4 separate regions of the Homo sapiens genome follow, and regions 1, 2 and 3 are each linked to region 4. Evidence: promoter capture Hi-C in 16 types of primary human blood cells and fetal thymus (Javierre and others, 2016). All regions are on one chromosome and are shown on one strand. The core of a region is centred on a gene start or on the middle of the fragment in contact, and the rest is flanking DNA. Distances in the headings are between cores, read along the strand shown. Region 1 has its middle 32 kb from the start of LINC01948. Region 2 overlaps LINC01948 (long intergenic non-protein coding RNA 1948). Region 3 has its middle 68 kb from the start of MAP3K1. Region 4 holds the start of C5orf67 (chromosome 5 putative open reading frame 67).

Region 1 (2,700 bases), core at 168-2,667, 160 kb before region 4:
GGAATAGCTACAGTCCTTATATTAGCCTCTAATGCCCTGCCCAGGGTGAATACCTACTTTTCTTTTTTCCATAATACTTATCACCATGTGACATATTATAGCCTTTATTTCTCAGATGTTATATATTGTCTTTCTCTCCTGTTACCACTAAAAATAAACACCAAGGAGGCAGGGATTTTGTGTGCTTTTTTCACTGCTGTGTCTCTAGCAACTAGAACAGTGCCTGGCACATAACAGACACTCAATAAATACTAGTTGAATAAATAAATGAATGGCTCTTTCTACTTTACCTCCCTTCCAGTCTAAGCTTTGTCTTCATCTTTGTTGCCTCATGGCTACATGATGGCTGCTGCTTTCCAGACATCATGTCCATGTCCAAGGCAAAAAGAAATTGGGGAAGAGTAGTGCCAGACACATGGGCCCTCTTTATCACATAAGCAAAACTTTCTCAGGAGTCCCAAGCTGACTTTAGTTTATATCTATTTGGCTTGGGTTATGGCACAAGCTACCAGCAGCAGTGAGAGAAACTAGGAAAGCAAGTAGGTAACTGGGCACATTGCTGCCCTGAGCAAGATCGATAAGAAGAGAAGGGCTGGACATGGTATCACTAACTGGGTCTACTGTGAAACTGCTAAAGGAAGAACCCAAACTTTGGGAACAAAATGGGAAATGCACCACCCTCTCCTAGAATCATCTCTGCCTCACATCCCTTCATTTCCCAGATGACCTGCCCTTGGCCACTGAAGGAACATGAAAGGCACAGGCAGCCTGTGGCCTGAGGCTCAGAGAGTGCAACAGAGACCTTAGTGTCTGCTCCCTTGAAGCTCACCGGAAGGCCAGCATATAATAGCGTTCAAATAATTGCATCTCTCAGGCTTGCAAGCACGCTCAGCATTGTTCAGGCAAACTGTGCCTTCCTGTGCCTCTGAACTTGGTCACCGCAGATCAGCCCTGCCCAGTCTTTGGGTGCTCCAGACTGCACACTGATGAAGAAACTTTGGCAACTGTTAAATTGCCTGCAGATGGGTCCAGTCACGCAGAAACATTCATGCAGTGTCCTCCAGACCCTTTGTGTGCTTCCCCGGATACAAGAGAGTGGGACCTGGACCCCCCCTCTGCCCAGCAGGCTTATGCTGCTCTACATCCTCTGGGGAAGTGACTGCAGCTCATTTGAACCTAGAAGCAACCATGTGATTCTCTCCCAGGCCGTGGTTCTCCTGACACATGTAGCAGAAGCCATTCCAGGAAGAAAAGGTGCCTGGACCCTGGATATTAGGGCCTGAAGCAAGGCATCACCAGGAAATTCTCTTCAGTTATTTTGGCTCTGACCTCGATTCCATCATGATGCTTGTCACCACATTCTTCACTAGGTGAGGGGCACCATGAGGATAGTGACTGTGTATTTCATCTGTTTGTACCTCTAGCACGTAGCACACTGCCTAGTACCATAGCAGGTGCCAAATAAATAGGCACTGAAAGAATGAATGAAAGATTCCCTGAAAATAGAATGTGACAGGCATGTGGAAGCGAGAGGGGAGAGGGAGCCTGAGGCACCCTGTGGGTGGTACAATACTTCTTCATAGCCTTTGCGTTACAGTCTAAAGATTTTACCAGCTTCAAATATTAAACACCTAGAGAGATTTTTTTTTCCACTTTTGCTGTCTTAAGCTCATTAACTTTCTTCAAGGTTTTGCCCATTGTTGCCACTGGAAAGAAAGAGGGAAAAAATGTTAGCACGTCCATGGAATTTGCAAAGTTACCAAATAGTTTAATATCCAGGTAAATCAATGGCAGCTCAAAAATTCCATGATTGTGTAATCCTGCCTCAGCTTTTTAATATGAGAATATTTACCACTGAAGGAGTACCTTGATCCCCTCTGACCAGCTGTGAGCTTATTAGTCTAATTCCCAAGTAACTCTAATCAAACATGATCATTTAAAAAATCTTCAGTAGCTAATCTTCCTCTCATTCAATTAAAAATATCTGTCATCTTCTCGATGTGACATCCAAAGGCTGGGAGTCCCAAACCTTGCTAAAAGAGAAAAGACATTTTCCCTATATCATGTGCTGGGGTATTTCCAGGGCTTATAATGGTGAGAAAGAAATGCTCTCCTGTATCCTATGCCAGCCAGTAGCATTCTGTCCAAACAATTCCCACACACTCCCACCCAGATGAATTGTATTTAAAGAGAATAGATTTTCACCTGAACACTCTATCTGATTTAGAACTCTGCTTTTCTCCATGAATGCAGAGAGAAAGCTATAATTCTTCACAATCATGAGCATCTTTAGCCTTGGGAAGTATGTCAACGTGCTGGAAGAAGGTAGTTGCTTCTCAAAGGCTGCCATGTTAGAAATCCATATGGCCAATGTTTCTGCCATTGTTCCTTTCCTGCTGTGAGGAAAAGTGCCTATGTAGTCTCTGGCTACACGTGATTGTCCTGTGTGATACGATGCCATGATCTGGCCGTCTCTTACAGTACAGCTTTTCATTCCGAGATAGCCTGTCGTGCTGGCTGTTTTGGATGAAGCTTGGCATGAGCACAGAAAGTCCATACAGCCACCCACAACTTGATCTACTAGTTGTGAACGGAAACTTTTGAACACGTTCCACCAGCTGCACAATGGTACCATTTATTACTTTATTCTCAGGGGAAAACGTTTGCTGTGTGAATAATACCAGGGACTTATGTAAGCTT
Region 2 (2,738 bases), core at 100-2,599, 140 kb before region 4:
AGCCCAATATGTTTGCAGTATGTTTCCCATATTGGCAAAGGAAGAACTATCTGCTTCTCGGTACTGAATCTTGCACAACTATAACAAGGAAATGATAGCACATTTTAAAGACGACGACATGGATTTTATTTTGTCAAGTTGTTTTTTTCCATTGTGTAAACTAGCAGGGTGTGGCCACAGCAAGCACTATTGTTTAATCATTCAGTTGAAAACTCAGCCCACACATCTCTCCTCACCCAGTGGACCTGCTCTTTTAGGATAATTCCATCTAGCTCACAAAGCCGTACTGAAGATATTTCCTGTCTTCATGCAAAACACTTCCATCATCTCCCTGCCCAGGGGAGGAAATGGAAAGAGAACGCTTATCCATCACAACAGGATATAGAGCTGTGGACCTGATTCTACCCCACGTCTCTGATTTAATGTGCAGTCCGAACCCAGGCACAAATCTAAGCAATACACCATATGTGCAGGCCCCAGGGGAAATCAGAACAAGCCTGAAGGAAGTTAGGCGAGAGAGCAAGCCCAGAGACAATGTATATTCTTTGCTACACATTCCATTTCCTTTGGGCCTGGATTCCATGGGTTTCTCTGTATGTATCAGTGTGCATGTATGCTTGGAATGTATCAGTACATGTATGTATCAGTGTGCATGTATGCTTGGAAGATTGGTTTATGAAGGGCACAGAAGTCTGCATCTGATTCATCCTGGTGCATACGTGATTGCAAAAGTGAGAAGAGGAATATCAGGAGGAGGAGGTGCATGAAAAGGGGAGAGTGAGGTTCTGGCAGGATCATTCAGAACGCACACTAAGGCCAATATGTTCAGAAAGGAGTGTGTAGTAAGGAGAAGAGTGTCTTAGTTTGGGTTTCCCAGAAGTTGGTCCTGAATACAGGAAGTTAATTTGGGGAGTAATCCCAGTAAGACCAGGAGAGTGCAGAAATGAACCAAGGACGACAGGGAAGCAGACAGGATATGACAGGGACAGGTTATGAATGCGGACACTTGGGGCTCAGTCACCCTGGAGACCTCTGTGTGGCGATTCAGAACATGCTGCCAAGTTGTCTCACCCAAGGGATGAGAAAGCCGAGGTATTTACACACCAAATCCCATCCTGGTTGAGGGCTGCTTGCTGTCGATTGCCTTTTCAGCCCTTATGGCCAAGCCTGCATATGCAGAGCACACTCTCAGGAGGCCAGGGGGAGCCTAGAGGCAGACTCACAAATTCTTACAGTACAAGGCCATCTGGAGTGCACAAAATGGGAAGTAGCCACAGGTACTGGTAGGGCACCAACAGGGCCTGCTATTAGGTTCTGAATGTGGTCTGGGCACTGCTGTAAGCACTTTGCATGTGTTAACGTGTGAGATGCTCACAACAAGCCTACAAGATAGGTCTTGTTATCACCATTTTATAGATGTGGCACAGAGAGGTTAAGTCACTTGCCCAGGCTCACAGGCTCTATGGAGCCTTAGCATATGTGTTACAGCACATTGGCAATGCCCTCCGCAACGCATGCTTTTATCTTCTCTCTTTCCTTGTTTTCCCGCAAACTCTCCTAGGTTTTTAAGGCTTATGATAACTGAAGAGCATTTGTTGGTGCTAGGTACTTTACATGAGCAGGATCCCCAACAACATAGGGTACCAGCCACCCCTGGACAGTACACCTGAGCTTATATAGAAGGAAGTACAGTTCTCTTATTTAAGTCACTGTGCTTGGGAATCTCGTCATCACCATGAACACACAGGGTAATGTTGGAGTTCTAAGCACGGCTCTGGGACACCAAACACAGAAGGAGATATGTGGACCCAGCCCTGCTGCAGCAGTGAGACCTTATACAGGAGGGGCTGAGTCAGTGTCTGAAGACATGCATCCCACCCCGTCCTGAGTGCTTCTTCTCTTGCTTTGATTAAAGGAGGACTCAGCCTCTTGTAGATTTCCGTTCCTTGTGGAGGGAGCTGATACAAGAGACAACATGATTGAGTCTTCTTTGGCTCCCCCACGAGTCACTGCTTGAGCCTGCCTCACCAAACCAGTCCTGAGGTCTCAGTGCACAGAGCTGTCAGCAAACCTCCCGCTCCCTGTTTGTGTTGGCTTTTGTCACTGTGCCATGGAGGTGTTGGCTAAAGCTGTTTACTGGCTTAATTTAAAAACACCTCGAGGTGTTCTTAAAATTCTGCTTTGAGCAGCAATATGGACAGAATGGCAATGAAGTCAGAAAGCAATGAAGATAAATAGAATATAACCAAACAAAATTATCATAAAATCACATGGAGTAGCTTAAGGGAACTTTTGAAAAAGTAGATTATTTAAATATAATATTACACACATATATCTACACATACATAGACACACATATATGTATATGTATGCACATACCTGTATAATTTCAGGAGATCTTATTGTCTTCATGGAGCTCATTTATTCATACCATAGAGGTCAGGCCATGTTCTAGGCTAAGTGCAACTCTGAAGCACGTTCTTCCAGACCAAAAGAACAGAACAAAGCACAGAAGACTTAAAATATTAGTTTTATATGCATGAAAAATAATGGCATCAAAAATCAGACTCCTATGGCAAAAGCCACCAACATGAGCTTTCTTGATTATTTTTATGGGGCCAGGAACCATTTGATAGCGGAATGTGGGTAAAACCAGGCGATATGAAGTGAGGAGCTAAAAATCGGCTTACGTAGCATTGTCAGTTGCCTAAACTGAATGTCAAGAGAAAAACCTTAGA
Region 3 (2,700 bases), core at 142-2,641, 140 kb after region 4:
TCAAATGTTATGTGTTGAAATGCCATTTTCACTTGAAAAATTGTATTGTTCCTCCTGTATGTCATCACATGGTAGATGATACTAACCATCAGTGTGAGGAGAGGGGAGCTGCAGCAGGAGCTCAGGCAGATATAATTGGAAGGACCCAGGAAGTTTCCATGACAGACCTGACTTAGTTGATTCGGAGCCAGTGCCCAATCCCTACACCTGGCAGGCATTAGAAATGCCAGGAGCCACTGGGAGGAAAGAAGGGCCTGATATCTGGCATTTTAGGTGGCCTGAGGCAAGAGGGAGCTTGAGCAGAGGTTGTTGGCATCTGTGAGTTGGGTATTTCCAATGAGGACATTGTTATGCCAGAGGCCACTGAAGGCCCCTCCCTGTCTCTGTGGCTTAGTTGGCAGGACTTCTTTGTCAGCATCTTTCTCTTTCCCCCAGATCCCTTTCAGCACATACCTCCATGCCCCAGTCCCATACTGACCATGAGGTTACAAGAGAGGCACTAATTAGCAGCTCGTCCCTTTCCATCCCAAAATTGGACTCCCAGATCTCCAATAAACATCTCATAATTTGGCTCCAAGAATTCATGTTCAGAGTACAACCTTACAATTTTTATTTTTGGTGTGAATCACTTATTTTATATTTTTAACAACTCCTATTATTGAGAAGTGGCATCTCTCTTTCCATTGATTCTGATGAGATCTTTGTTGCTATTTTGGTAACAAGAAGCAACAGCTGGAGTAGGGGTCATCCAAAGTCTTTTGTGTTGTGTATAGAAAATACTTAAGGGACTCTGTGAAAAAGTTCTTCTGCATACCCTACATGATTTTATCTGTAATGTAATATTATTAACATTTGTAAGTAATTCCACTTTATAGATGAAGAAATTGAGGCACCCAAGGTTTAGGTGACGGCTTAAATCAGTGGACGAATGTAAAAGTTGAATACTCTCTGCCCAATGTGTTTTTTCCTAGGCCAGCGATTCTGGGGAATTTGAGGACCCAGGCTCATATCCTACCTTCCTATCTACCACCACCTCCCACTACAGCCCCCAAAAATAAAAATTAGTCTAATTTTTTCAGTCTTATTGCTGATAACATCTGGGATGTTAGTTAAGGAGTGATCGTGACAGTGAATGATGAATAAATTATCAGTCAGCAACTAGAAAGAAAATAAGTGAAAGTTTACCAGGAAAGCTTTTCCATGGTGCCTTTTAGTTACAGGAATATATTCTAAATATGCACTGTGTTCTTCTTATAAATATTGAGTATTAGTTGACTCATCCTATCCTACACAGCGGTCTGTAGATACCACCTTTAATAAATGCTTGGAAGAAGAGCTTTTAATTTCTTTCAATTTGATTGTTGAATCTATATGAGTATTATAGAAAGTGTTCTCTAATTTAATACTTATAGAAAAAAATTGCTATTTTGAATTGGTCTGTGACCTCAGTTGCCTTTTCCCTGTCTTTGTTCTGTAAGAAGAGTTTCTCTTGGCTCCTGATTTACAGTACTAAATATATTCTGACGGAACCATAGCCCAAGCCCCAATGTTCTTAAGTCCTAATTCAATTAAAGGTATAAATGATATTAAGAAGCTTCTTGTAGTGCAGAGAACATTTCTATTGGGTAAAATGTTTTATTGGAACACTGATATTTCTGCCATTGCTTACTGCCATCATTGTTACTGAACCCTCCATCTCTTGCCCAGGTGTTTACCTCATTATGTATATTTGAATTATTGACAACTGTTGAGCACCTCATCACAGCATTGTGATAATGAGGTCAAGATTTCAGATGTATGGCTGACATCTCATTGGTTTCACTCCACTAATCCCCAGCCCCAGCTTACCATCTTGCATTAAGCTTTCCACAGACTCACAAAGAGTCCTCAGCAAGCAGAGTTGACTTGATAAGAATCCAACACTGCTCTGCCAACTCCCAAAACACTATTGATAGAAAAATCAAAAGTATGATCTAAAGTGCATGTAATTCTTATTATGTCTTGAATTTGTACAGGGTGTTTTCACTAAAGAAATCAAAGTACTACTAAAGCTATCTTAAATTATCTTAACCAACATTTATTCAGTGCCTATAATGATCATGACATTGTGCTCACCACTGTGGGAGATATAAAAATGAATATGGCCCTGTCTCCACCTCATGGAATCCTAAAATAGAGGTGGGAAGATAATAATAATTATAATGTGTATGACATTGTTGAAGCTTATTATGTTGAAGATATTGTTACATTGTCTTATTTGCTCTCAAACAATTTGGATAGGTATTATTATCCCCATTTTAGTAACAAACAAGCTCAAGAAGAGTAAATAACTTACCAAAAGAGATTCATTTACCAACAGATATTTATGCTATGACTCAAATTCATGCCTTTGATTCTAAACATTTTAATACTTAACTGAATTTCTATAAAGTATAAAGACTTAAAATGGTAAAACAAAAAAGATAAAAATTAATATATTCAAAAGTTCTTACAGTTTCCCAGTCCTTTAATACTCCCATAGGGTGTCTGGCTGCTCCCTCTGAAGTGTGCACCCCTTTCCAGTCATTTTGAGAATCCATAAAGGGAGGCAGTTTCATATGAGCTTGCAAATCATTCTATGGGCCCTAGACCTCAGGAGGCACCTCGCTGAGACTTGATGGAACATAGAGTTAGAACCAGACAGTGAAAGAGCGGGAGTCC
Region 4 (2,700 bases), core at 164-2,663:
AGGCCCCTCCTAGTCAATCACTGAATCCAGCCTCTCCAGACTCAACAATCTGACTTAGGATCTCAGAATTCCAGGAAATACTAGGGATGGCTTGGCTGCCTCCTTGGTTATAGGTGAGGAAACAGGCGAATGGTGAAATGACTTAACCAAAGTTCCCAGAGCTGGCACATTTATAGCTGAGATCTCCCAATACTGTTGTCTTACTCCTGCACGCAAAAATTAGTGGATGTTTTGTTCTTTTTTTGTCTTTCAAAGGACTTGGTTTCATTGTTAAAAGAAACCTCACTGCAAGTTACCAAGCTGTCAAACCCTGAGGCGGGATGAGCCACTATTTTTCAAATCCGTGCACCAGTAGTGCTTCTGTGACATCACCCAACACAGAATATCTTAAAATCGATTTCAGGAATGGATCTCGTAACCAAAAAACAGCTTGTTCAGAAAGGGGCACCTATGCACGTAGCAGATGCCTTCTATCTGGTCTCCATCTTCTATCAGGTCTCCCTTTCTCTCTCTTTATTACTGCCCCCCACCTCTGGGAAACTGCCACACCCAGCCACTAAGACCAAGACTTTGCGCACTAAGACTGTGTCGACAGATAAGCAGAAAAGTACAGCACTAGTTTCATCTAGTGTTCTGCCCTGTGTTTCAGTTGAGAGAAATTTCACACATATACACAGACACAGACACACACACACATACTCTCTCTCTCTCTCTTCCTAAGAAATGAATATAGAGCAGCTAAAACCAGATAAGTTCTAGATCCCTGAGGCTTGAGACCCAAGCCTGAGACTGTTCTTAATTGGCCTCATTGACAGCAGATGCCCAGCTCCTCTGCCCCACTCTCTAGGATCCTGCACAGATGTGGCCAAATTCTTCCCCACCAAACCAGCTTTAGACTCTCCTGGGCCTGGCGATCCATGCCTTCTTCTTCACCCCTCTCCTGAAGATTCCTGTGACTATGGGTCTGGAAGCCCTTTCTGCCAAGACACCACTTTCCTCTTCTGGTCTCATTTGGTTTGTCTGACCCTTGGCTGGTTCTAATCCTTGGTGGATTCCTTCACATACTGCTCTAAGCTTGCCCTTTGACTGCATTACCTCGAGCCTTTCTACAAGGCACCAGCTCTATTTCCTGGCCAGAAGTAGAAATTCCCTCCCCCGCTGCGCAGAAGTCCCACTCACAGAATTCGGCTTCATTGCTTCTCTGCCTCTCCAGCTCCATTCCTCGAAGAGCAGAGATGACAAGATGTAGGTTCTGTGTATGCATCCATGTTCTCACTGATGGCTCAGCCAGCATCTCTAAAGTTTTTTTTAATGATTAAGGGCCTTTGGGTTCCCCTGTGGCACTTCCTTGGAGGTAAGGGCTCAGGTGAAGTTGTTCATTTGGCTGTTGATCCCAGGGGAGCACAGGGAATATGAAACAGGGAAGAGAGGAAAGCTAATAAAGAATGTGTTAAGAAGCTTTGGGCAATCAGGGCTTCCTCTAGCAGGAAACCCTTAGGAGACTGCAGAACATTCCTTGGAATGAGGGCAAGGACTTTGGATTATTTATCCAGCCAGGACTTTCCCTCTTTGGCCAAGGGTCATTCCTTGGGCAATAATTCCCTGGCACTTGCAGACTAACCTGTGTGCTTCCAAGCTCATTTCTTTTTTCTTTTTTCCTTTTGTCTTTTTTTTTTTTTGAGATGGAGTCTTGCACTGTTGCCCACGTTGGAGTGCAATGGTGCGATCTCGGCTCACTGCAACCTCTGCCTCCTGGGTTCAAGTGATTCTTCTGCCTCAGCCTCCTGAGTAGCTGGGATAACAGGTGCCCGCCACCACACCCAGCTAATTTGTTGTGTTTTTAGTAGAGATGGGGTTTCACTATATTGGCCAGGCTGGTCTTGAACTCCTGACCTTGTGATCCGCCTGCCTCGGCCTCCCAAAGTGCTGGGATTACAGGTGTGAGCCACCATACCCAGCCGCTTCCAAGCTCATTTCTATGGCTGAAGAATGCCCTCAGGCAGAGAGAAGCAGGAGGTTGTCTGTCTACACAGCATGTGACTACAGCCAAACTCTGGGGTGGCCAAGGGGACATGGGTTGGACACCAACAGCGTCTGCTACAAAAGTGGTTGTTGCCACCCCTCAGAATCCCCCTCTCTGTGTGATCTTCCAGATTCAATGTAATACGTACTGAATGCTGCCAAATATAATGTACCAGACTAGACTCAGGTAATCACAAAGATGTGTAAGACAGAGTTCTTCTCCACACAGAACTTTCAATTTGATGTAAGAGACAAACAGAAATAAAAGTCTTTATAGAAAAGTAAGTCTTTATAGAATAAAGAAGAATATGAGAAGGGCTGTATTAGAGCCATGAATCACTGGCTGTGAGAGCTGCGGGAAGATGAGATTAATTTTGACTAGAGGGAGAAGGCTATCAGGGCAGTTTTCCAAAGCTAAAATATTTTAAACATATGCTAAATCGACAGACATCCAATTCCCACCAAGAGCAAAAGAATAAACATTCTTTCGCAGGGCCCTAAAGCCAGAAAGCAGTGAAAGAATTAGAACCATTTTATCTCAATTCACAAAAGGAAATAAGTGACATCTTTCAGTATCACCCCATCTTCTAGATGCAACGTTTAAAACCAAGTCACAAGAGCAAGATGTTCTTCCTGCTCCACGTTCAACTATGCATTTGAAATCTGTTCTCATTTGTC

The links. The method cuts DNA at HindIII sites, captures the fragments that hold promoters and counts their contacts. A CHiCAGO score of 5 or more calls a contact.
Region 1: a fragment that was not itself captured here is called in contact with the fragment with the promoter of C5orf67 in region 4 in 3 of 17 cell types (total B cells, naive B cells and neutrophils); the score reaches 10.6 in total B cells.
Region 2: a contact is called between a fragment that was not itself captured here and the fragment with the promoter of C5orf67 in region 4, in 3 of 17 cell types (total B cells, naive B cells and neutrophils). The highest score is 6.7, in total B cells.
Region 3: a contact is called between a fragment that was not itself captured here and the fragment with the promoter of C5orf67 in region 4, in 2 of 17 cell types (total B cells and naive B cells). The highest score is 8.4, in total B cells.

Annotation. Positions count from the first base shown.
Region 1 is chr5:56,448,395-56,451,094 of GRCh38, forward strand. No RefSeq gene overlaps it. Among named protein-coding and RNA genes, the nearest start is that of LINC01948, 32 kb to the right of the region's middle. The HindIII fragment of the contact is 2,225 bases long and covers 306-2,530 here.
Region 2 is chr5:56,465,333-56,468,070 of GRCh38, forward strand. LINC01948 (long intergenic non-protein coding RNA 1948) reads right to left here. Exons shown (of 5, transcript NR_104664.1): 2 at 2,380-2,480. Among named protein-coding and RNA genes, the nearest start is that of LINC01948, 15 kb to the right of the region's middle. The HindIII fragment of the contact is 6,555 bases long and covers 1-2,738 here.
Region 3 is chr5:56,746,400-56,749,099 of GRCh38, forward strand. No RefSeq gene overlaps it. Among named protein-coding and RNA genes, the nearest start is that of MAP3K1, 68 kb to the right of the region's middle. The HindIII fragment of the contact is 401 bases long and covers 1,192-1,592 here.
Region 4 is chr5:56,604,843-56,607,542 of GRCh38, forward strand. It overlaps C5orf67 (chromosome 5 putative open reading frame 67), which reads right to left and starts at 1,414. Exons shown (of 6, transcript NR_161255.1): 1 at 1,180-1,414. The HindIII fragment of the contact is 384 bases long and covers 1,073-1,456 here.